5 separate regions of the Homo sapiens genome follow, and regions 1, 2, 3 and 5 are each linked to region 4. Evidence: promoter capture Hi-C in human tissues and cell types (Jung and others, 2019). All regions are on one chromosome and are shown on one strand. Each heading gives the region's core, a stretch centred on a gene start or on the middle of the fragment in contact. The rest is flanking DNA. Distances are from core to core; before and after follow the strand shown. Region 1 holds the start of MAP4K2 (mitogen-activated protein kinase kinase kinase kinase 2). Region 2 holds the start of MIR194-2HG (MIR194-2 host gene). Region 3 has its middle 7.6 kb from the start of POLA2. Region 4 holds the start of NAALADL1 (N-acetylated alpha-linked acidic dipeptidase like 1). Region 5 overlaps EHD1 (EH domain containing 1).

Region 1 (2,500 bases), core at 1-2,500, 260 kb after region 4:
CAAGATCAACTCGAGCGCCATCAAGCTGCAACTCACGGCACAGTCGCAAGTGCAGATGAAGAAGCAGAAAGTGTCCACCCCTAGTGACTACACTCTGTCTTTCCTCAAGCGGCAGCGCAAAGGCCTCTGAACTACTGGGGACTTCGGACCGCTTGTGGGGACCCAGGCTCCGCCCTTAGTCCCCCAACTCTGAGCCCATGTTCTGCCCCCAGCCCAAAGGGGACAGGCCTCACCTCTACCCAAACCCTAGGTTCCCGGTCCCGAGTACAGTCTGTATCAAACCCACGATTTTCTCCAGCTCAGAACCCAGGGCTCTGCCCCAGTCGTTAGAATATAGGTCTCTTCTCCCAGAATCCCAGCCGGCCAATGGAAACCTCACGCTGGGTCCTAATTACCAGTCTTTAAAGGCCCAGCCCCTAGAAACCCAAGCTCCTCCTCGGAACCGCTCACCTAGAGCCAGACCAACGTTACTCAGGGCTCCTCCCAGCTTGTAGGAGCTGAGGTTTCACCCTTAACCCAAGGAGCACAGGTCCCACCTCCAGCCCGGGAGCCTAGGACCACTCAGCCCCTAGGAGTATATTTCCGCACTTCAGAATTCCATATCTTGCGAATCCAAGCTCCCTGCCCCAAATAACTTCAGTCCTGCTCCAGAATTTGGAAATCCTAGTTTCCTCTCCTTCGTATCCCGAGTCTGGGACACAAAACTCCGCCCCCAGCCTATGAGCATCCTGAGCCCCGCCCTCTTCCTGACGAAACTGGCCCCGGATCAGAGCAGGACCTCCCTTCCGACCCTCTGGGAACCTCCCAGAGGTCCAGCCCATCTCGGAGCATCCCGGAGGAAATCTGCAGAGGGTTAGGAGTGGGTGACAAGAGCCTGATCTCTTCCTGTTTTGTACATAGATTTATTTTTCAGTTCCAAGAAAGATGAATACATTTTGTTAAAAAAAATATAAAGCGCAAGTCCATGTTTATCTGGGAAATTGGGGATGGGGCGGGGAGTGGAGCGCCCCCTCTTCCCTCTGTCTTCTGGCTCCCGGGACTTTGCGCTCCCTACCTGTGGAGCGCGAGCGACAGTGGCGGCGGAAGGACGTAGGCTCCGCCCCGGCCTTGGGGCTTCCCCGCGCCGCCGAGGGCCCGTCCCGCGGGCGCCTCCTCCCGGACTGGCGGTGGGGCATCCCCGGCGCGGCCCCGCCCCCGGGCCTCAGCCCCGCCCCCGCGGCCTCAGAGCCACGGGCGCCCGCCCCGCCCCGCGCCGCCCCGCGCCGGCTCCGCAGCTCGCGCCCGCCCGCCTGCCGGCCCGCCCGGCGCCGGGCCATGGCGCTGCTGCGGGATGTGTCGCTGCAGGACCCGCGGGACCGCTTCGAGCTGCTGCAGCGCGTGGGGGCCGGGACCTATGGCGACGTCTACAAGGTGCGACGGGACGGGCGGGAGAGCCGGGAGGAGGGTGCCAGCCCCGCACCCCGCGGCAGGATCTAGCCCCCGGCCCCGCCCCCCATCCCGCTTCACCCTCCGCCCCTGCAGGCCCGCGACACGGTCACGTCCGAACTGGCCGCCGTGAAGATAGTCAAGCTAGACCCAGGTGAGGGCCCGGGTCGGGCCTCTGCGCCAGAGGAAGGGCAGAGCGCCCGCGGGCGCGGGGTGCGGGCGGAGGGTTGACGTTTCCGAGACCCCTGAGAGGCGTGCCCCGGGAGGTGCTGTCACCTGCACCTGCCTGGCCCGGAGGGAGGCACTCTGTGCCCATTTTGCAGATGGGGGCACTGAGTCAGGGCAACCCCAGCGCGCCTTCCCCATGATGCTTTGTGCTTCCCAGGGGACGACATCAGCTCCCTCCAGCAGGAAATCACCATCCTGCGTGAGTGCCGCCACCCCAATGTGGTGGCCTACATTGGCAGCTACCTCAGGTGAGGCTGCCTTATCCTCCTGGCCCCAGGCAGCCCCCATGTGACCTGCTTTGTGCCCACCCCAGCTCTTTGTCCCTAGGAATGACCGCTTGTGGATCTGCATGGAGTTCTGCGGAGGGGGCTCCCTGCAGGAGATTTACCATGGTGAGGCCAGGGCTCCAGGCCCCAGCAGGCCCCAGCCTTCCCCCACCCCTACCCCACTGGGGTACCAGAGGGGACTCTGGGCCCTGGACTTGGGCTCCTCTCCACTCCTGCCTGGCTGTGTGACCTTGAGAGAAATACTGTCCATCTCTGGGTTCAGTATCCTAGACTAAACTGGGAGGGGACGTGGCCAACACCGCTTTCATTTAACAGTGCCTGCTGCTTTTCCCACACACGGTAGCCTGGGAGGGTGGGCATGACCCCCGGGCCCCCAAGCCAGCCTCTCCCTTTTCCTTTCAGCCACTGGGCCCCTGGAGGAGCGGCAGATTGCCTACGTCTGCCGAGAGGCACTGAAGGTAGCTGGGCCTGTGAGGTGCCCACACCTCTGGTCTCCAGAAGCTGTGGGCCAGGAGCCCAGATGACCAGCAGGGAGGCGGGTGGAGTGCCTCGGGTGGGGC
Region 2 (2,700 bases), core at 85-2,584, 160 kb after region 4:
ATCCAGTGCTCCCATGTCCCCCAGGCCACAGCTGAGACCGTGTATGACATCCTGTCCCCGGCAGCCCCCGTCTCCCGCTCCCTGCAGGATAAGCGCTCTGCGCGGAGGCTGCGCAGGGGCCAGCAGCCTGCCGACCTGCGGGAGGGTGTGGCCAAGGCCTACGACACAGTGCGAGAGGTGACCAGGCCCCCGCCCTGCCCCAGTCCCCCATGCCCATCTCCTCACACAGACCCCGCCCTGACCTCTGGCTTCCACAGGGCATCTTGGATACAGCTCAGACCATCTGTGACGTGGCATCGCGGGGCCATGAGCAGAAGGGGCTGACGGGCGCCGTGGGGGGCGTGATCCGCCAGCTGCCCCCGACTGTGGTGAAGCCGCTCATCCTGGCCACGGAGGCCACGTCCAGCCTGCTCGGGGGCATGCGCAACCAGATTGTCCCCGACGCCCACAAGGACCACGCCCTCAAGTGGCGCTCGGACAGTGCCCAAGACTGAGCCTGGGGTGCCCGGCACCCAGAGGGTGCTGCCCACCATGCTCCTGAGCCTCCCAAGAGCTGCAGCCCACGGGCCCGGCCCGGCCTGGCCCTTCAGGGGATGGCCACTGTGAAGGACGCCTTCCCAGCCTGCCCGTTGCCAATCTGCTGTGAGAGGGGGGCCTCCCTGCCTTGGGGCCTTAGCCCTGGCTCTGCACTTTTCCTCCGGGGAGAAAGGACACTGCCCCTCCCCCGACCTGGGCCCACACTGCTGCCTTCTCCCAGGACGGAGGCTTTTGGACCCTCGGACCCCATCCCACTCAGCCAAGTGTCTTTCTGTGTCTGGGGGGAGGAGGGGATGATATCCGTGTGGTTCGATGTATTATTTTTAAGCTCCGTGAGTGCGTGGGTCAGTGTCTGCATGAAGTGGAATAAACTGCCCACCGCCAGCCCCCCTCTCAGATCCTCTGTCCCTGTGAACCCTGGCCTCAGCCTTGACCTTGGCCCCGCCCCAGATCCCACCTCTGCACCCAGCACCTCCCATGTCACCACCAGGGGTCGCCATGCCTCCTGGCCTTGCCCAGCAGATCAGGGCACAGGGGGACCCAGAGGCACCCAGCCCTGCACGCCTTCCCCTGGCTCTGGGCTCTGCCTTGCCCCTCCCAGGAGGCTGCCACTCCAGCCCCACTCCTGATGTGGCAGGAGCTACGTGGGGCTGCCAGGGGAGGGAGGGATGGTCCTTGGAGCCCAGCTGACCCTGCCTGGTTGTCACTTGAGGCCACTCGGGGAAGGCTGAGCCTGAGGCATTCTAGATGTTGCTCTCACCATCCCTAGTGGGGGCTTTTGGGGTGGCCCAGGCCTTGGCCCCTTGGTTTCCACTCTGATCTGGGGTCCCAGCTCCAGCACTTGGAGGGGGGAGGGGTGCTGGAGCAGCGCTGCAGCCGGAATCCCAACCCTCACTGCACAAAGCTTTACACAGGACCAGGGAGCGCCCATTGCCCCCCACACATCTTGTTTCTTGTGAGCTGCTCCCATCGCGCTCCTCCCTGCCCTGCTTCCCAGTGGCGCTGCACAGAGGTGGGTGGGTCCATGGGGAAACCAAGGCTCGGGTTGGGAATCAGGGAACCCTCACCTTGCTAGGTTCCGCAGGCCTCTGGGGTTAGCAAAGGTCCCCCAGCCCTGCTCTGTGGCCCCTTCTGAGTGGGGGAGATCTGGGTACTGGGAACAGAGCAGAAGCTTTGTCCCGAGGGACCCTGGGGTCCTGGCTGCCCACGGACAGCTGGGGCAGCAGGCTGGTAAGAGACCAGGAGGGCGAGGCCCTGGAGGAGACAGGGCTGTGGAGACTCGGTGCTGATGCCACCCGGAGAGGCAGATGGGGCCCAGCCTGATGCTTCCTGGACCCGCCCCACCCTGCCCGGGCACAGTCCAGGGCTTCCTGCCCTTCGAACCGCACTTGTGATCAGTATTGACGGTGGTGGGATAATCATTAACCACCACCAGGGGCTGGGTCAACGGCTCAAAAGGCCCTGGGCCCAGGGTGTCCCCACTTCCTCCTTGTGCCCCGAAGGCCAGCCCGGCACTCAGGTAAGAGGCTTCCTGAGTGGTAGGACCCCTGCCGCCCTCCCTGTCCTAGGAGGCTCCTGAACCCAGGCACCTCTCTGAAGGGTGGCCAATCCTGAGGAAGAAAGGGACCTGGACAGCCATGGGGTGGCCGGGACGAGCCCCTTCCTCTCTGTGCCTTGGTTTCCACTGTGGGATAAGGGGGCCTTAGCATCAGCGCTCAGAGCTGTGGAGCCAGGATTCCTGATCGGGCGCTGTCTCTGCCAGGCCAGGGCACTTGGACACCACGCTGCAGGAGGCTGGTCTCGCCCAGGCCTCTGTGGGAAGGGCCGCCAGGCTGAGTGGAGGGCCAGCCACCAGCTACGGTGTCTTCCTTCGCAGGTCTGTCCCCCCAGGCAGAAGGATTCCAGCCCAGGGATCCCCCATCCCACCCTGACTGCATCCTGAGAAGGGGGGACGCCACTTCGGGAAGGTTGTTGGGGCAGCACAGGCCCTGGGGCCCTGCTCTGTGACCTTGGGCGGCCCCCTCTGTCTCTCTAGGCCTGTATGCACCACTGGCAAAGGGGGCAGGGCCCAAGTCTACTCTAAAAGCTCCCCTTTCTCTCCAGAAGCTTTGGAGTCTCCCAAAATGCCTGCTGGGTCTCTGCAGGACTGGCACCTGTCACCGG
Region 3 (2,700 bases), core at 91-2,590, 200 kb before region 4:
GGAGCTTGCAGTGAGGCAAGATGGCGCCACTGCACTCCAGCCTCGGTGACAGAGCAAGACTCCGTCTCAAAAAAACAAAAACAAAAACAAGAATTCTTACAACTCAACAATAAAAGACAGGTGATTCACTGTCTTTTATTGTCAACAATAAAAGAGAGGTGATTCGCTGGAGGTCACGAAGCTGTAAGTAACAGAAAGTAACTGTGGACCAGTTGGTTCCTTTACATTGCATCTGGGTAGGTTTACAGAAACTGTTGTGGGGAGCACACAGGCAACAATGGAGTGAAATTTACAACCAGCTCCTGTAGCTGATTTCCTGGACTCCGATTGCAAATGGGGACCTCATGGATCTCACATTAGTGTGAAATGATAGAAGAGGTTAATGCCAGGGTCCAGTTTTACACTGTTGTTAGCACACACAGAGTGGATGGTCACATGTATTGTAGCCCACCTGGAGTGAGCACAGAGTGGAAATCAGATGGAACATGATTTTAACTCTGATAATTTATATGTTTGGAAACTGCAAAAGGATGAAGGGTGGCTTTGAGAGAATTGAGTCAGATAGCAGAAGTATGTATAGTATGTGACATATATAAGATTTTATAGAATATATAACATATATAGATAATAATATATATTATGCATATAGTTACACACACACACCAAGGATGCCAAAGAGGAATTTTAGGTTTGGTTTTGTTTTGTTTCAGGCAGAGTCTTGTTCTGTTGCCCAAGCTGGAGTGCAGTGGCTTGATCATGACTCACTGCAGCCTTGACCTCCCTGGGCTTACGTGATCGTCCCACCATAGCCTCCCAAGTAGCTGGGACTTCAGGTACACACCGCCATGACCCGGTTAATTTTTGGTTTTGGTTTGTTTGTTTGTTTCGTAGAGATGGGGTTTTACAGTGTTTTGTTGTTGTTGTTGTTGTTGTAGAGACGGGGTTTCATCATGTTGCCCAGGCTGGTCTTGAGCTCCTGGGCTCAAGTGATCCACCTGCCTCAGCCCCTCAAAGTGCTGGGATTACAGGCGTGAGCCACCATGCCCAGCCTATTTTATACTTTTATTTCATTTATTTTACACTGTTATTTATGTGGTTTGTTTTTTGTTAGTTAGTCTGTTTGTTTGTTTGGGACAGAGTTTCACTCTTATTGCCCAGGCTGGAGTACAGTGGCGCAATCTTGGCTCACTGCAACCTCCGCCTCTGAGGTTCAAGCAATTCTCCTGCCTCAACCTCACAAGTAGCTGGGATTACAGGCATGCACCACCACGCCTGGCTAATTTTGTATTTTTAGTAGAAACGGGGTTTCACCATGTTGGCCAGGCTGGTTTCGAACCTCTGATCTCTGGTGATTCACCTGCCTCGGCCTCCTAAAGTGCTGGGATTACAGGCGTGAGCCACCACGCCTAGTCATCTGTGTTTTAATTGTGGTAAAAACACATAACATAACATGTATGATCTTAACCGTTTGTAAGTGTACAGTTCAGTAGTGTGAGTACATGTTTTATTTATTTTTGATGCTCTCCAGAAGTCGGGAATTTGGGAATTTTGGGAGGCACCGCCCTACACTGTAGGTATATTGCCACCAGGTGGTGGCAGTGTAGCATGGTCCTCAGGGTCTGGTCTGAGTTTCTCCAGGACTGTCTTTTACACTATTTATTTATTTCATGTGTATAACTTTATGGGGTGTGAGTGTAATTTTGTTACATGCATAGATTGTGTAGTGGTGAAGTCAGGACTTTTAGGGTATCTGTCACCTAAATAACACACATTGTATCCATTCAGTAATCTCTGATCACCTACCCCCATTCACCCCCACTCACCCTTCTGAGTCTCAGTTCTCTACCATTCCACACTCTACGTCCATGTGTACATATTATTTAGCTCCCTCTTAGAATTGAGAATGTGCAGTATTTGTCTTTCTGTGTCTGATTTGTTTTACTTAATGTCCTCCAGTTCCATCCATGAATGTCCTCCAGTTCCATCCATGTATGTCCTCCAGTTCCATCCATGTGACTGCAAAATACATGATTTCATTCTTTTTTATGACCCAATAGTATTCCATGGTGTATATGTACCACATTTTCTTTATCCAATCATCTGTTGATGGACACTTAGGTTGATTCCATGTCTTTGCTCTTGTGAATAGTGCTGTGGTAAATGTACTGGTGCAGGTACCTTTTCGATGTAATGATTGCTTTGGGTAGACACTCAATAGTGAGATTGCTGGAGCACATGTTAGTTCTATTTTTAGTTCTTTGAGAAACCCTTGTATTGTCTTCCATAGAAGTTGTACTAATTTACAATCCCCCAATAGTGTATAAGAGTTCCCTTTTTGGCCTGGCATGATGGCTTACACCTGTAATCCCTGCACTTTGGGAATCTGAGGCTGGTGGATCACTTGAGGTCAGGAGTTCAAGACCAGCCTGGCCAACATGGTGAAACCCCATCTCTACTAAAAATACAAAAATTAGCCGGCATGGTGGCAGGCGCCTGTAATCCCAGCTACTCAGGAGGCTGAGGCAGGAGAATCACTTGAACCCAGGAGGCAGAGATTGCAGTGAGCCAAGGTCGCGCCACTGCACTCCAGCCTGGGCAACAGAGGGAGACTCTGTCTCAAAAAAAAAAAAAAAGAGTTTCCTTTTCTCCACATCCTTGCCAACATCAATATTGTTGTTATTCAAATTTTCTTCCTCCCAA
Region 4 (2,700 bases), core at 127-2,626:
CTTGGGGTCTCACTTCCCTCTCAGCCCTTGCAAATGCTGGAACACCTTTTCAGCCTTGGAGGACCCCCTCAGATGTTCCCTCCTAGTCAGAACTCCTCACTCTTTCACTGGGAGCATGGTGATCCTCCCTCTACAGGGCACTTACCACATGGCTGAACCTAAAGCCTGTCTGCCTCGCCTGCTGGATTTTGCTTCCCCACAGCCTTGCATGGCTCTAGTATAGCACAGAATGAACAGTGCTTGCATGTATAAAGGAAGGAATGAATAAGTGAATGGAGGGATGGGTGGATGGATAAATAGGAGGGTGGATGACGGAGTCCAGGCAGAGCCAGGGGATAGAAGAGGAAGTCACCTCGCCAGGGAGGCATGGGCTTCCCCTGCTGCCTCCTCTGGGACAGCCTCCCTTCCCAGGACTCCCATTCCTCGTATCGCTGGGCTCCCTTCAGGATAGACACAGAGAGTTCTTCTGGGTCCTCCTTCTTCCTTTAGCTCTAGGCCTTACATTTTCCAGAGTCAGATGAGGGATGAGTAGTTAAAATTGATGAGCTCCCACTACATGTCAGACACTGCACTAGCTATTTCTACAGATGCCATATTGTTTAATGAAAATGACACCATAGCCGGCACGGTGGCTCACTCCTGTCATCCCAGCACTTTGGGAGGCTGAGGCGGGTGATCACCTGAGATCAGGAGTTTGAGACCAGCCTGGCCAACATGGTGAAACCCCATCTCTACTAAAAATACAAAAATTAGCTGGACATGGTGGTGCACACCCGTAATCCCAGCTACTCGGGAGGCCGATGCAGGAGAATCACTTGAGCCCGGGAGGTGGAGGTTGCAGTGAGCCGAGATCACACCACTGGACTCCAGCCTGGGTGTCAGTGGAAGACACAGTCTAGAAAAAAAAAAAAGAAAACAGGTGTAGAGAAGCTGAGTGGATTGCCCAAGGTCACACAGCTTACGTCCAGCAAGAAGGGGGATCTCAACTCAAAATCTGCTCAGGCAGGTAGGGCTGGGTATGCTGTAGATCGGCTGCCTTGGAGGGAGGCAGAGGCAGTGAGGGTGGGCAGTGGGCACGGCCCTGCTGTGAACACAGGAGCTCTGAGTTCCAGCCCTGGCTTGGCCTCTGTTTTCCTGGGACACCCTGGATGAGCCCCTTCCCTCTCGGCTTCAGTGTCCCTGGGTGACCTTGCTGCCCTTGGAGAGCCATTCCAGGCAAATGGTGCAGGATGTGGTGGATGTGGATGGCTCCTGGCTCTCACTGCGGGATGTTCCCTCACTCTCCCTGCCAGCTGGGGGTCAAAGGGCAGTGCCACCCATGGGGTAATGTTTAACCAGGCACAACACCCCCTCTATAGGGAATAACCTATAGACCAGTCCTACCCCAGCTGGCCAAGAGTCCGCAGGATGCAGTGGACGAAGGTGTTGGGGCTGGGGCTGGGGGCTGCTGCCCTCTTGGGGCTGGGGATCATCCTCGGCCACTTTGCCATCCCCAAAAAAGCCAACTCACTGGCCCCCCAGGACCTGGACCTGGAGATCCTGGAGACCGTCATGGGGCAGCTGGATGCCCACAGGATCCGGGAGAACCTCAGGTGAGAAGTGGGGCCATCTGCTCCTCCGTTTGCCAGAGGCCCCCTCCCTGATGCTGGCCCTGCCCCTCCCTCTGCCCACCCTGCAGAGAACTCTCCAGGGAGCCACACCTGGCCTCCAGCCCTCGGGATGAGGACCTGGTGCAGCTGCTGCTGCAGCGCTGGAAGGACCCAGAGTCAGGCCTGGACTCGGCCGAGGCCTCCACGTACGAAGTGCTGCTGTCCTTCCCTAGCCAGGAGCAGCCCAACGTCGTGGACATCGGTGAGGTCCTGCCCAGTCTTGGGAATGCCCGGGGGTGGGGAGCTGCTGGGCCCAGCCATGATACTGCCACCCCTCCAACAGTGGGCCCCACTGGGGGCATCATCCACTCCTGCCACCGGACTGAGGAGAACGTGACCGGGGAGCAAGGGGGGCCAGATGTGGTACAACCCTATGCTGCCTATGCTCCTTCTGGAACCCCACAGGTGGGCCCAGAACCCCCCCTACTGCTCTGGCCCAGCTCCCTTGGTTCCACCCAGGGTTCTCCCCACCCTGACCCAGGGAACGTGCCTCAACTGGGGCACAGCGCGCCCTCCGGAATTTACTCACCGGGACACTCCATCGCTGCTCCTTTCCTCCATCAGTCATTCAACAAACACTAGTGGCTCTGCTCAAGGCCAGGTCTGTTACAGGGCACCCAGACATGGAGGAAATGAGGGGTGACTGTTCTTGGGGAGCTTACAAGCTCTGGGTGAGGTGGGGGAACAGAATCTAAATTCTCCCTCCTGCCATGCAAACTTCCACCCCCCTTCCCCACCCACACTTCGCTGGGCCCAGCTCTAAGGATCACCCCCTCTTGGGACTAGGGCCTCCTCGTCTATGCCAACCGGGGCGCGGAAGAAGACTTTAAGGAGCTACAGACTCAGGGCATCAAACTTGAAGGCACCATTGCCCTGACTCGATATGGGGGTGTAGGGCGTGGGGCCAAGGTGAGTGGCAGTCCCCCAGTGCAGGAGGCCTCGGTGAGGAAGGGGCTGGGCAGTGGACTGGAGGAAGTGAGGGGAAGGGGAAGGAGAAGAGGCAGTGTTGAGTGGGGAACCAAGCCCCAGGGTGGGGCAGGAAAGGCAAGGT
Region 5 (2,700 bases), core at 97-2,596, 190 kb after region 4:
CTGTTCAACACCAGCTCCCCTCGTGGCTCCCTGCACCCCGCAGCCCCTGCACTCCCCATTCTATATTCCTTTTCTGTGCACTTGATTACTCCTGGTATCTCCTGTCAGTGGAATCCTACAGTGCCGTATCTGTCCTTTTGTGGCAGGATGTTTTAAAAAAACTTTTAGGTTCAGGAGTACATGTACAGGTTTGTTATACAGGTAAATGGAGTGTGGTGGGGTTTGGTGTATAGATTATTTCATCACCCAGGTAATAAGCGTAGTATCTGATAGGTAGTTTTTCTTTTCTTTTTTTTTTTTTGGAGACAGGGTCTCACTCTGTCACCCAGGCTGGGAGTGCAGTGGCACAATCACAGCTCACTGTAGCCTCCACCTCCCGGGCCCAAACAATCCTCTTACCTCAGTGTCCCAAGTAGCTGGGAATACAGATGCATGCCACCACACCCAAATTTTTTTAAATTTTTGTAGAGGGGGGTCTCGCTATGTTACCCAGGCTGGACTCAAGCAGTCCTCCTGCCTCAGCCTCCCAGAGTGCTGCGATTACAAGCGTGAGCCACCATGCCCAGCCTGCTAGGCAGTTTTTCTGTCCTCACCCATTCCACCCTCAAGTAGGCCCTGGTGTCTGTTGTTCTCTTCTTTGTTGCCATGTGTACTCAATGTTTCACACCCATGGATGAGTGAGAACATGCGGTATTTGGTGTGGAACATGCGGTATTTGGTTTTCTATTCTAGTGTTAGTTTGCTGAGGATAATGGTCTCCAGCTCCATCCATGTTGCTGCAAAGGTCATGATCTTGTTCCTTTTTATGGGTGGATAGTATTCTCTGTGGTATATGTACCATGTTTTCTTTATCCAGTCTACTGTTGATGGGTATTTAGGTGGATTCCATCTTTGCTATCGTGAATAGTGCTGCAATGGACGTATGTGTGCATGTGTCCTTATGGCAGAATGATTTCTCTTCCTTAGGGTTTATGCCCAGTAATGTGATTGCTGAGTCGAATGGTAGTTCTGTTTTAAATTCTTTGAGAAATTGCCAAGCTGCTTTTCACAGTGGCTGAACTGGTTTACATTCCCACCAGCAGCGTATAAATGTTCCCTTTTCTCTGCAACCTCACCAGCATCTGTTATTTTTAGACTTTTTAATAATAGCCATTCTGACTGTTATGAGATGTTGTCTCATTGTGGTTTGATTTGCATTTCTCTAATGATTAGTGATGCTGAGAGTTTTTTCATATGCTCGTTGGCCGCGTGTGTGTCATCTTTGGAAAAGGTCACAGACTTATTTCATCACTTAGCATCATGTCTTCTAGGTCCCAGGATTTTCTGAGCTAGAGCTTCCTGGTGGCTTATGATCCCTTATCAGAGGGGGCTCTGGCTTTTACTCACTAAAACCACTCCCTCTGCAGGTGGGCCTTTCTCTCCAGCCCACCCGCTTGGGCCATGTTTTCTGTGTCCTTTTGCTCGGCATCAGTTCTGTCACTCCCACTGGGGCCTGAGCTAGTCAAGCTAACAGCAAGGCCCCTACCTTGGTGGGTGCCAAAGCCTGAAGTCTTGTTGCCTTGGGCAGTGCCGGGGGTGCTGGCAAGCCCTGTTCTGTACTTGATACCGGCCGTCCAGCTCTGATCTAGAGAGTGGCTCAGTGTTACCGCTGTGCAGTGTAGCCTTTGGCACCTCTTGAAACCCGGCGTCTTTTAGGCTGAGTGAGGTGCCTTTGAGGGCAGCGAGGGCCTGGTGGGCTAAGGAGCGCCGGTGGGCCTGGTGGGGCGTGCAGTTACGTGGTCACTGCCTGCATGGCACAGGCCTGAGTGCTGTGGCCCTTTTTGTCACCTGTGGGTGTGGCTGGCCAGTCACTGTGTTTCCCTCACAGCAAAAGCACATTTTCTGTAATAAACAGGAAATTTTAGTCACCTGCAAAGAAATGGGCTTACCTCTGTTGACTCCAGCTTGAGATGACGGCCAGTAACTGGGTTTCAGAGCAGGTGGGGCAGGGCTTCTGGACCTGGGGCAGGGAGTTTTGGAGTGCTCACTCTTCTTTCTTCCTTCCCCTCCTTTTTCTCTCTTTCCCCAGGGCCCCCCAGCCATCCAGGGGGAGGGGGGAGTGGGGCCTTGCTGGGTGGAGTTTGGGAGGGTGACCTCAGCTCCCCAGGCGCCGTCCTGACTCCCAGGCCAAAGCTAACATGGGCTGAGCACAGCCCATCAGGGCGCCCTCATTCCCAAGAACTCGGTTTTGGCATCACAGCCTCCCCAGCTGTGTGAATTCTAGTTTCAGCTTGTGGCGGGCTGAAGACAAATGATTTGACAAGGGGAGAAGCTGGGCCCCCTTTTTGCTGAGCGAGGAACCTCAGTCCTTGAGTCATCGCCTTTTCAGTACTGACCTGCGTTCCCAGAGCTGGCCATAAAAGGCTGTGGGCTGCGGGCCCCAGGCAGGCGCTGCAGGCTTAGCTAGTGTGGCCTCATCCCCCGGGGGCAGAGGCGGCCTCTCCCTGCCCCTGTTTCCCTCATGTTGCCCTTGGCCTCTCTTTCTGGTTTTCTGCCGAGACTTCACTCTTTGGGCATCCTCTCCTGTGGAGCTCAGAGCCAGCTGCAGGGAGTCCGGGTGCCCGGGGCCTTGTACTTTGGAAGCAGGAGCCTGTGGTGGCATGAGGTGCCCTGGCACGATGCCCTTCCACACCTTCTGGGCACAGGGAACCTGGCAGCTCT

What was found. Contacts are between HindIII fragments. The study calls those that stand out against the background at their distance.
Region 1: a contact is called between the fragment with the promoter of MAP4K2 here and the fragment with the promoter of NAALADL1 in region 4, in 2 of the 25 tissues and cell types used here (aorta and dorsolateral prefrontal cortex).
Region 2: a fragment that was not itself captured here is called in contact with the fragment with the promoter of NAALADL1 in region 4 in 5 of the 25 tissues and cell types used here (adrenal gland, bladder, dorsolateral prefrontal cortex and 2 more).
Region 3: a fragment that was not itself captured here is called in contact with the fragment with the promoter of NAALADL1 in region 4 in 1 of the 25 tissues and cell types used here (heart left ventricle).
Region 5: a fragment that was not itself captured here is called in contact with the fragment with the promoter of NAALADL1 in region 4 in 1 of the 25 tissues and cell types used here (adrenal gland).

What each region holds. Positions count from the first base shown.
Region 1 is chr11:64,801,964-64,804,463 of GRCh38, reverse strand. It overlaps MAP4K2 (mitogen-activated protein kinase kinase kinase kinase 2), which reads left to right and starts at 1,250. Exons shown (of 32, transcript NM_004579.5): 1 at 1,250-1,410; 2 at 1,522-1,579; 3 at 1,811-1,901; 4 at 1,981-2,045; 5 at 2,343-2,398. The coding sequence starts at 1,315. It overlaps MEN1 (menin 1), which reads left to right. Exons shown (of 10, transcript NM_001370259.2): 10 at 1-948. The coding sequence ends at 130. RefSeq lists silencers at 1,111-1,290, 1,441-1,620. The HindIII fragment of the contact is 25,459 bases long and covers 1-2,500 here.
Region 2 is chr11:64,892,767-64,895,466 of GRCh38, reverse strand. It overlaps ATG2A (autophagy related 2A), which reads left to right. Exons shown (of 41, transcript NM_015104.3): 40 at 25-177; 41 at 258-921. The coding sequence ends at 494. It overlaps MIR194-2HG (MIR194-2 host gene), which reads left to right and starts at 2,018. Exons shown (of 3, transcript NR_133640.1): 1 at 2,018-2,056; 2 at 2,641-2,700. The HindIII fragment of the contact is 4,598 bases long and covers 1-2,700 here.
Region 3 is chr11:65,253,050-65,255,749 of GRCh38, reverse strand. No RefSeq gene overlaps it. Among named protein-coding and RNA genes, the nearest start is that of POLA2, 7.6 kb to the left of the region's middle. The HindIII fragment of the contact is 3,849 bases long and covers 1-2,700 here.
Region 4 is chr11:65,057,229-65,059,928 of GRCh38, reverse strand. It overlaps NAALADL1 (N-acetylated alpha-linked acidic dipeptidase like 1), which reads left to right and starts at 1,376. Exons shown (of 18, transcript NM_005468.3): 1 at 1,376-1,592; 2 at 1,679-1,851; 3 at 1,933-2,054; 4 at 2,436-2,558. The coding sequence starts at 1,408. The HindIII fragment of the contact is 22,908 bases long and covers 1-2,700 here.
Region 5 is chr11:64,864,282-64,866,981 of GRCh38, reverse strand. All of the region lies in intron 2 of EHD1 (EH domain containing 1), which reads left to right. Among named protein-coding and RNA genes, the nearest start is that of MIR10392, 13 kb to the left of the region's middle. RefSeq lists an enhancer at 861-1,160. The HindIII fragment of the contact is 8,078 bases long and covers 1-2,700 here.